Linked DNA regions of Homo sapiens: region 1 is linked to region 2. The links are contacts of gene promoters, found by promoter capture Hi-C in blood cells and fetal thymus (Javierre and others, 2016). All regions are on one chromosome and are shown on one strand. Each heading gives the region's core, a stretch centred on a gene start or on the middle of the fragment in contact. The rest is flanking DNA. Distances are from core to core; before and after follow the strand shown. Region 1 overlaps CCNJ (cyclin J). Region 2 holds the start of DNTT (DNA nucleotidylexotransferase).

What was found. The method cuts DNA at HindIII sites, captures the fragments that hold promoters and counts their contacts. A CHiCAGO score of 5 or more calls a contact.
Region 1: a contact is called between a fragment that was not itself captured here and the fragment with the promoter of DNTT in region 2, in 1 of 17 cell types (naive CD4 T cells). The highest score is 5.8, in naive CD4 T cells.

What each region holds. Positions count from the first base shown.
Region 1 is chr10:96,049,776-96,055,122 of GRCh38, forward strand. CCNJ (cyclin J) reads left to right here. Exons shown (of 6, transcript NM_001134375.2): 3 at 481-691. All of the region lies in intron 2 of ENTPD1-AS1 (ENTPD1 antisense RNA 1), which reads right to left. Among named protein-coding and RNA genes, the nearest start is that of CCNJ, 8.9 kb to the left of the region's middle. The HindIII fragment of the contact is 3,177 bases long and covers 813-3,989 here.
Region 2 is chr10:96,301,634-96,307,407 of GRCh38, forward strand. DNTT (DNA nucleotidylexotransferase) reads left to right here and starts at 2,801. Exons shown (of 11, transcript NM_004088.4): 1 at 2,801-3,067. The coding sequence starts at 2,865. The HindIII fragment of the contact is 4,232 bases long and covers 670-4,901 here.

The DNA of each region.
Region 1 (5,347 bases), core at 1,151-3,650, 250 kb before region 2:
AATTAGAAGATACTAGAGGAAAGGTACTGCTTTCTACACTGTTGCAAGTATAATACTGTATGCAGCATATCCACTTATCTATTACCTTCTAACCAAAAGTTCTGAGCATCTTGGAGAGGTGTAGGGGCGTGTGTGTGGTATGTGGTTGGTTTGTCAGGGATGTTTTTCTGAAAACACCTGGTAGGGAAAACAGGATTCTCTTATTAAAAATCTTTGTAGGATGTATCCATTCTAGAAAGCAAGAAACAAGAACATCTATAATTGTTCACATCAGAAGTGGTTAAGAGTAAGGAGAAAAATTTGGTTTTAAATGTCATTCATTATCCCTCCACTTAACTTTTTCATTTTTGTATTCCAGTCAAGAAAAGTATGTTTTAGGCACTTGTAATACTAATATATTGGAAAAACAATGTTAAGTCATTGCCTTGTGGGGATACGCCTACAGATAGGTCAGACTAAATGTTGTTCCTTTTGACTTAGGAGCTGAAGTTGCCCTCCTATAAAGGCCAGTCCCCTCAGTTAAGTCTCAGACGGTATTTTGCTGACTTGATTGCCATTGTGAGCAATCGCTTCACACTCTGCCCTTCTGCCCGCCATCTTGCTGTCTATTTACTGGACCTGTTTATGGACCGCTATGACATCTCTATCCAGCAGCTGCATTTAGTTGCGCTTTCCTGCCTGCTTCTAGCAAGTAAGTATGAATCTGATTTACATGACTGGAAATTTCTGATGTTTATATAATAAAATAAATTTATGTAGAACTCAGTGAAATATCATCAAATCCCATTCATTCCAGTTCACTAGTATCAAGAAGCTTATGTTAAAAGTGCTTCTCAGTGTAATAATTCTTAACCAGACATTGAAAAATGGCTTTGGAGCCTGTTAAAAACATGTGCCTAAGCCGTACATTCTCGGCCACTCCAGATCTACTAAGACAAAATCTACATAATGGGTACTGGGTATTTTTTAACTTTTTGAAAAAGTTCCAAAGGTGATTTTGATTTACCTTTCCAATTGAGAACCATTGTCTTAAAGCAGTGGTTCTAAACCAGGAGCAGTTTTGTCCCACAGGGAACACTTGGCAACGTGTACAGACGTTTTGGTTGTCACATCTGGTGATAAAGTGGGAGATGCTTTTTTAGCATCTAGTACATAGAGGCCTGGGATGCTGCTAAACATCCGGTAGTGTACAGGACAGTTTCCCATAACAAAATTCTCTGTCCCAAAACATCAATGGAGCTAAAGTTGAGAAACTGTCTTAAAAGTACCATATTCTTATATTAGAATACTTTCTACTGACTAAATAATGAGTTGGCTTAATGAACTAAAAGTTAATGTGCAACTACTATAAATGTGAAAACTTTTGCTTATGCATTAGACCAACTGTGTAGTAGGCTCCAAGATACAATCTGATACAACCATATTTGTTACTTAGTACAGAATATACTGGTGGATCTTTTGGCCCCTCTTTCTCTTTACATCTTCCTATACCTCATTTCATTGCTCGTTGGTACTCTCACTGAAGATAGGGCACGTAAAGGAATTGAAATTGTGTTTTTTTTTCTTTTAATAATGTGGAAGATTGTATTTGATATGGAAGTTGAATCAGTAATATAGTTTCTATATTCATGTTATTACAATGAAATTTATAGTATGTAGATGTATTGATAACCTTCACTTTTAACTCTCACTTGAGGGATAAAGATTGTATTTGATATTGAAGTTAAATCAGTAATGTAGTTTCTGTATTATCCATGTCATTATAATAGAATCTTAAAGGAGTATGTAGATATACTGATAACCTTCACCTCTAACTCTCCCTTGAGGTTTTGGGGTCAAATATGGCTGGGATGAAATAAGGAACATTCCCCCTATATCCATGCCACCAGAGTTCTTTAGCACTTCTGTGCCTGGCTGCTTATAAATCTAAAACCAAATGTAGTCCTATGTAGTATCATTTCTGGTACTAATCTCTTCTCAGATTTTATTTTCTGACCTTTATTCTTCCTTTGATCTGATGACCTCAACTACTTATTTTGTCCCCAGAATGTCCCTTTGTAAGTTATTTCAGATCCATTGTAGAACCAGGCTGAATGTAAATAAAACACAGCTGCAGCATGACTTCCCACTGCCTATATATTAAGGTGGAAACTGCTTAATGTAGTGTTTAGAATCTTTCATCTGGACCCAGCCACCTTTCCAGTCTCATCCCCATGTACGTTGAGCAAAATTCTTAGAATACCATTTACTTCCTGAATATCTACATTTCCCCTTAATCTACTGTTCTCTAAAATTCAGACACTTCACTCATCCCTCATCCCCCTACCCAGGAGCCAGAGAGGTAATGCTTGTACATTTATAATTAACCTTTAATTTAGCCTCTAATTAAAGTTTCATGCTCATAAGTAATCATGTGTGTAATACTGTATGTGTTTAATCACTGGCTGTGAAGCCCTTTGGGGTTTAATAGTTTGTATAAGATTGGAAAAGCTCACACGTGACAGTTTAGATGTGTGAGTCCACAAATAAAATGGATTTTTGTTATTGTACAGAATGTTTATTATAGAATCAGTTTACAGTAGAGTGTCACTGGAAATCAGACATGCAAGTTAGATTATTTTAAAAACTTGGTATCATTAATGGAAAGTAACTGTGTGGCTATCACTGTCATTTTAACACTAGCACCTGCTCTATGCCTGTGATTTTTAAAGTGTAGCGTGGGCCAAGTGGGAAGGCCATCTTTGTGTACCATCTTAGGTTGGTTGGAATGGAGTTTTCAATTGTTCTTATTTTTAAATTGTGTATTTCTGTTAGTTTAAGGTCATGAACAATTTATTTTATTGAACTATTTGGATTAATATCAGTGGTAAGATGTAGTTATTTGTGACTCTTTCCAGTAATTAGACATTAGGATCTGTATTTGCTGGGGTTCAAATATGAATTATCACCTATTACTGAAAGAACTGGATACCTCCCTCCTTTTTCTGCTGATGCCTCCTGATTTCCCTTTCCTTGAGGGAAGAATTGCTTTTACATTCTTCCTTTTGCATTGGAGAGTAGGAATGTATGTGAGGTATTCTTCAGGATTTCTGCTCCTCCCAAGTAGCAAGTTGTTCAAAAGAGTTTGAGCTATCAGCTCTACACCAGGGTCAGGAATTGAAGAGGTTAGCCCTTAGTAGGCAGCAGTCTCTCTACCCTTGCCCCCCAACCCTAGTCTGTAACTTTACAGCAGAAGAGCTTAGGATTCTTATAAACTGATAAACTCTTTTCAGTGTCTGATTCCTGTTTTAAATTTGTGGAGTTCATTGTAATGGGAAGCCGTAGGTGGTTTGGCCAAAGATGGAGCATACCTTGTAAGTTCTAGAAGCAAATGCTTATGTCTACACTATTAGAAGAAGAAAGGGCCTACAGATTATCTCTGATTGGAGAGCTATGTGTAGTGTTTTGGAGCAATGACCATAGTGATGGATTCCCTGGGTTGGAGTCTCATCAGCAATATGAATTTCAACAACCCCTGAATCTCAGGTTATTTCTTTATAAGATGGAAATAAAGATACCTTACAAAGTTGTTCTGGGATCAAGTGGGGGTAATATGTTTAAAAGCATGTAGGAAATGGAAACATTAAAAGATTAGCATGGTAATTATTAATTCCTCCATAAGTTGCTCTGTTACCTTTAGCCTGCCTCCTTTACCCTAAAGGTTTTGACCTATTTCAAACTGGACCCTAATTTGTCCAGGGAAGTTCTCCTATTCCAACTCTTTCACATGTATGCCCTGGCTTCCCTTGGCTTCTGTGACCAACATTACATTTATGGAGCATGTGGAAGTAATCTTGGAGATAAGATTTCTCATAATTTGCTCAAGATCTTACATAACTAAGAAATGATCTTGGAGTCAAGACAAAGTGAAAAGTGAGACAGAGGCTTTTAGTAGTAACAATTTGTAACAAGTGCTTGTTTCCCCTTGCCAACCAACACTGGGTTAGCAAAGCTTTTTACTGATGTGTGAAAATTTATATCTCACAGTTGGTTTAATTTACATCTCAATTTTTAATGAGCTCAGAATTTTTTTCTATGAATTACCTTTTTCTTTTGTTTGCCCATTTTTATATTAGATTCATTTTATAAATTTGTGATAATTCTTAGTGTATGTTAGGGATGACTTTTTTCCCCCTACTTAGTAATAAAAAAATAGAATGTGGGTTGGCAGAGCACTCGGTGACATCTGATCCGTGCCCTATTCAGTATATAAATCTTCTCTACCACATACCTACTATTCACTGCTGGCTTTGAAAATGTGTTGGTTTCCATGGCTGATATGAACATATCCTACAAAGGAAAGACAACCCAGTGTTTTTGTTTCTGTGGCCTCTAATTCTTTATTTTCTGGGAAGCAGATATGAATTTCCTGTGCCCTTATTTCCTATTTGGGGCCTTTATCAATATAATCACATGGCTTCTGTTATTTCCTTTCAATTGAAGAAACTGATCTTTGTGAACTGTGTGTGGTAATGTGGATAAGTAAACTTAAAATGAACATAGGCATAGCAGTGAGCACAACAAAAACTATAGATAGGAATGCAGGTACTCAATTGACATTATCACACTTTTTGAAATCTTTTAATATCCATGTATCTGAATATTTATTACTATACATAATGGAAAAGTTCCAAAAAATTTGAACCCTGAATTAAAACCCCAAGTATGGTTATTTATTCAGAATCAGATTATTCTTAACTTTGCAAGATCAATATGCAAAGTCTTTCACACTTGTAGCCAAATATTTTATAAATATAAACATCCCATAGATGCTTAATAATACAGAAATCTGTCAGTTCTGGTCTAGAAGTGCAAATTTGGGAATTCAAACATAAATTTTCCTTTTGGCTTCCATTTTTGGTTTGATTTAACTTATCTGACCTTAAATGGATTGGCCAACCTCGCTACCTTGGTTTTTGAGCAGTGAAATTGGTCATATGCAATTTTTTTTCCCAATGTTGAAGATTTCAAGGAGATAATATGAAACATTCTTGCTCCTTGAATTATGATGTATTAATTTCTTCAAAGGAACTTTAAGCATAATATAAATAAACTCATTAATTTCTACAGTATTCCTTTGAAGTATTCTGCCAGTATTGCTGTTGCTTCACAAATGGCAGGGTGCTTGAAAGCTGTAATGATTCATCCAGAGACACTGAACTAAATTCCTAGGTCATTCTCCTTCTGAAGAATTTCACTTCATACTAGGAACACTGGTTCCCTCTTCTTTTTTCAGGCAATAAGCTGGATAACTATGTCATACAGACCACTTTAGTGCTTTCAACTTTAAGTATTTGCTATTGGCAAA
Region 2 (5,774 bases), core at 1,551-4,050:
GAGATGTCACCTAAGTGGTATTGATACCTCTGAAGGGTACAGTAAGACTGGGTCTGGTTGTGCAGAAAAGAAAAAAAGAAAAAGAAAAAAGCTAAAGACTAGAACCAATCACTGCTGTCTGAGTAGAGAACCATTACTGCGAAGACCCTGACCTTTGTAGCAGCAAGCAAACAAAAAAGGTCACCTCTTTCCTCTTATCTAGACTTTCAGTCTCCCTCTGGTATCACCATTGGCAGAGCCTGACATAAAGTCAGCTGGCAAATGAGAAAGAGAATTTGCTCAGTCCCAGCCTCAACCTCATGGAATCCATCAGAAAAAAGGTAGATTTGCAGCTGAGAGATGATAGCCTGATAACCAGACAGGCATCAGTACATTTGAAATTTTTGTTGGTAATGTTTTCAATACCAGTGACTCAAAGCAAATTAAAATGTGACATTGTTTAATATGATATTTTGATGATTTAGTAGTTTCACAAAACATATATATCCGATTTCAGATTGAACTGGAATGTCTCTAAAAACAAAACATAAATTACTACGAACTGACATTTATTGAAAGTGCTACCTTTGTGTCAAGCACTCTGCCCAGCAGGTTATGTGGGCTATCTCAGTCCTCATTTTACAGATGGGGTAAAGCTGAGGCTTAAAGAAGTTAAGCAACTTGCTTTGAAGCTTCAGAGCAATAGAGACAGAATTTTTATGGGCAGCCTGACGAAGCCTGAGCTGTTAGCCACATCTCAGTACTACCTCCCCATTCCCTTTACTGCTTAGGTGGTGCACCTTTACTATTAGGTGGCTATACCTTGGGAACGAACACAACAATCCCAGACTCTTGCTAGAATCATTTACTTAACTCCCTGCTGCAGCACCATTTGGTAGCTAAGACTGCATTCTAACATGAAGCATTCAGCTCTTCAGTAACCAAACACATAATAGTGAGGGTCAAAATAGACTCTCATCTTCCAGTTGATCTCTAGCAAACAGTCATAGCATCCGGGAATTTCAGGGCTGCATTATAGGCCCTTACCAGATGTCTGAATTCCCTTCTGTTACAGCTCAATAAACAGTTATCCAGCATCTGTTTGAATACTTTTCATGACTTGTAACACACAACTGTATAAAGCTGCTCTCTGTATATTTTTAGACAGCTGAGTTACTAAACAGGTCTTACTTGCGGAGAACTGGAATCTATTACTCTACAATTTCCACCTGAAGATTTCTGATTTTGCTTTCTTGAGCAACACAGAGTGCTTTACCCATGCCTTAAGGCAGCTGTCACATGACTCTTCCCCTAATACGGTTGTGAGGTGCTCACGTGTTTTGGAGATAGCAAAAGTCTCAAATAATATGGCACAGACGGCCAGCCATGGTGGCTCACACCTGTAATCCCAGCACTCTGAGAGGCCGAGGTGGGCCGATCACCTGAGGTCAGGAGTTCAAGACCAGCCTGACCAACATGGTGAAACCCCATCTCTACTAAAAATACAAAAATTAGCCAGGCGTGGTGGCGTGCGCCTGTAATCCCAGCTATTCAGGAGGCTGAGGTAGCAGGATCGCTTGAACCCAGGAGGTGGAGGTTGCAGTGAGCTGAGATTGTGTCACTGCACTCTAGCCTGGGCAATAAGAGCGAAACTCCATCTCCAAAAAAAAAAAAAAGGACAAAGGGTGAGCAGAGCTCAGATTGGTTATTGGAGAAGACAATACAGAGGAAGGCTCCTTGGTGGTTAAGAGTAGTCTTTTAAAATCAGACAGATCTGAGTCCAAATCCTAGCTCAATCATTTCTCAGTTGTGAAAATTCAGTAGCTCTGTGACCTTGGGCAAATTGTTTAGCCAAATGAGAAAGGTAGGACCACCTGACAGTGGTATTGTGAGGATCCTGTCAGCTAAGGCTGGTAGGTGCTTGCCTTGGCCGTGTAGTAGCTGCTCAGGAAATGAGATCTATAGAGTGTATTGGTGAAAGACAAATTTAATTTTGCACATAAAGTTATGAAAATGTCTCCTTATGGCAGTGGTTATCATCTAAAAGTCATACCATCCCACTGAAGAAGACCTATTTTAGGGTTTATAACAGACTACTCTCTGGACAACCTTAATCCACTTAAAAAACTAATATATGCATACAGCATTTGGAATCCAAAGAACTGAATTCAAGATATGGCTTGGCCCCTTATTCTGTGATCTTGAATAACTGAGCCTTGGTTCTCTTGCTTATAAAATGTACCTATGTAAGTGAACAGGTGGTAATACCCACCATGAAATACTATGGAGCAGTTAGAAGCAACAGAGCAATTAGAATACGGATCTGGAAAACATAGTTCCAAGTGAAATAAAAAGGTGATTGGCAAAATGAGAAATGTAACAATGCCATTTATGTAAAGTCAAAACAACCACAAGCAGAATATAACACCCATGCAAATAACAGACATCCAGTACAGTGTAATGATTGTCTACAAAAGGAGGAGAATGCAAGTGAGTTGGGAGGTTTAAAGGGGATCAATAAATAAAGACCACAGAAGGGCCTCAGTACATTTAGAAATAAATAACATGCAAACAATGATGCTTCCCTACCTTCCTCACGAGGTTACTCTGAGGAGCTAATGAGATTGTGCGTATGAAAACAAAAGTTAATTGACTGTCTTCATTATGATCTCCATATTGGACAAATGAACTGAACAGAGATAAAAATTCCCCATCACACTTTGGCAGGAAGCTGTTGCCAGGGCAGCACCTGTGAAGCCCTGGCCTGGCTTCAGAGTCTGCTGGTGAGATGACATCAAAACCCTTCGTGTAGGAGGGTGGCAGTCTCCCTCCCTTCTGGAGACACCACCAGATGGGCCAGCCAGAGGCAGCAGCAGCCTCTTCCCATGGATCCACCACGAGCGTCCCACTTGAGCCCTCGGAAGAAGAGACCCCGGCAGACGGGTGCCTTGATGGCCTCCTCTCCTCAAGACATCAAATTTCAAGATTTGGTCGTCTTCATTTTGGAGAAGAAAATGGGAACCACCCGCAGAGCGTTCCTCATGGAGCTGGCCCGCAGGAAAGGGTTCAGGGTTGAAAATGAGCTCAGGTAGGACAGCATCGATCTTGCTTTGTAAATAAGCAGAGGCTTTGTGAACAGCTTCTTGGGAACCCAAGGAACCTGTGTTTTCTTCCACATGTGGAAGAGGTGATCTTCCCACTGGGAGAACAGCAGATTTGAAATCAAAGAACAACTAGTTAAGGAAAACGAGATAAGTGGGGACTGAATACAATTATATTGAAACTAGTTGACACCAAAAGATGAGATAAATTTTTTGTTTTTTGCTTTTCACTCCTATGAGATGTGTTATTTAGGGATGATAAGCAGAACACTAATTGGAAAATTTAATGCTGAACCACTCAATTCTATTCTTGACCAATTTGAACAAAGTATCACTGGGTTCAACAAAAAAGTTTTGGCTACTTTGATGCAGAAAGATGATTTGGTTGCTTGGTTCTTACCTATACATCTGGGCGTGCTAAGGCAGCTAGCATCTGTGGTGGGCGAGGATGACTAGCCAGCTTACCACAGGCACCCAGATGTGGCCTTGACCACATTTTTCCAAAGAGTGGTCCTAGTGGGGTTCTTAGAAAGAGAGATGCTAGGTAAAGATGTATTCACTGTTAAGACAGCTCTGTCCAGGGATGACAGACATCACACTGAGTGAGATGTAATCAGAGCCCAGGCAAGGAGGCGATAGAAGCATTTGGACCACCTAGATTGGTTCACTCACTAATCCACTCACCTTGAACAGCAATTATTCTTGTTGTTTTTCTAACTTCTGTGTAAGCTCTTCACTGATCTCAAATAGATGAAGAGAAAACAAGCAAAATCCAGAAACAAATGGTATTAGAACCTTGACATAAGTGATGGTTCTGGATTAAACTGTTAAGGGGCTTGCAATGAAGGAGTAATGATTTATGCAGTTGACCGCTTTGACTGTGCAAGAAATAAATTGACCACAAATTTTCAGGCAAAACTATAAAAATTTTATGTGAAAGGACATTTTGATTGTATAAATAGTCTTTGATATTTGAAAATAAAACTGACAAGCATGTCATGCAGAAGAAATGTCAGCTTCCAAGTGTTGAGGAGACATATTTCAAAAGTCAATTTTCAGATATGTTAATGTTCGCAACACCCTGATTCATATGACATTGACTTTTCATTCATTTTTTGCTAAAATGCCCCATTCAGAAATTCCTGAATTTCCTATGGCCCTTCTTCCACCTGATTTCTCTTTGCAAGGTCTCCTTTTCTCTCTTGCTGCCTCTCTGTAACCTCCTACAGCCACTCTGAATCTCATTTTCTAACATCCTTTCCAAGAAAATCCTAGATTTCATCTAACTGTTAAGCCTGCCTGATATTACAGACTTACATAGAAGGCTAGAGTTGGAGAAGACAGGAAGATTATATAGGTAAAGAAGCCAAAAAAATAGATTTTTTTTTTTTTTTTTTTGAGACAGAGTCTTGCTCTGTTGCCCGGGTTGGAGTGCAGTGGCACAATCTCGGCTCACTGCAACCTCCGCCTCCCAGGTGCAAGTGATTCTCCTGCCTCAGCCTCCCAAGTAGCTGGGACTACGGACACGCGCCACCACAATCAGCTAATTTTTGTGTTTTTAGTAGAGACGGGGTTTCACTATGTTGACCAGGATGGTCTCTATCTCCTGACTTTGTAATCCGCCTGCCTTGGCCTCCCAAAGTGCTGGGATTACAGGCATGAGCCACCACGTCTGGCCAAAAATAGATTTTTTGGAAAAGAAATTAAAAGCCTTAGCAAATATGGAACTGCTTTTCATGGTAAAGAAATTTGACAAGGGTTAGGCAGGAAGGAAAGAACCAGAAGCACCACTTACTGGAAAGCTCTCCATTGAAACGTCCAAGCTTCCAGCAAGGACCCGCTGATTTATTATAGACACAGCAATGAATACATACAAGGCGGCTGAGGCAGGCACTCAGGGAGATGATGGGAGGTAAGTTTCTTCTGTTGGCAGGACAGCTGAAGAGGCAGCTACATGCCCCAGATGCCTGCTGCCAGGGACCAAGCCCAGCTGCTCAGGCGGCGGAGGAAGCTCACTGGTGCATGGTGAGCAAACTGCCGCTGTGCATGTGATGATGGCAAAGTTCCCAGGCTGGTAGCTCAGAAGACACATTAAATACAAATGTGCTCTATGGCGCAAAAATAAACCACAGGAAGTAGAAGTCCTAGGTCTCAAACGGAATTTCTGTGCATAGATATATAGACTTTAATTGGATAGAGAAATAAAAATTATTGTAGGGGACAAATCTCTAGATACGAAATTTAGAAACCTCAAATCCTGGCTCTGAGCCTCCCCAGCCATGGGGTATGGGACAAGGTCCCCTCTCTCCCGACTGATTTTAATATCCTGATAAATGGCCTATCTGATGTGATCACCAAATGAGATAATGCATGTCAATGTGCTTTGATAAATTAAAACAGTTAGACAAATGTAAAGTGTAATTATTTTCTTGTGAATTGCTGGATCCATTGACCTTTACAGCAAAACCCTAAGGAATGGGCTCTCCCTCCACAATATGAACAAGGTCAAATGATATCAACAAATAGAACAAAGACAGGAAAGAAACCCGTCAACATGTTATAACTGGTTTTTTGGGAGTGGGGGTTGGTAGGGAGAGATTATGGCTGTTTTTATTTTCTGGGTTTTCCAGTTTTTTTTTTTTTTTTTTTTTTTTTTTTTTTGAGACGGAGTCTCGCTCTGTCCCAGGCTGGAGT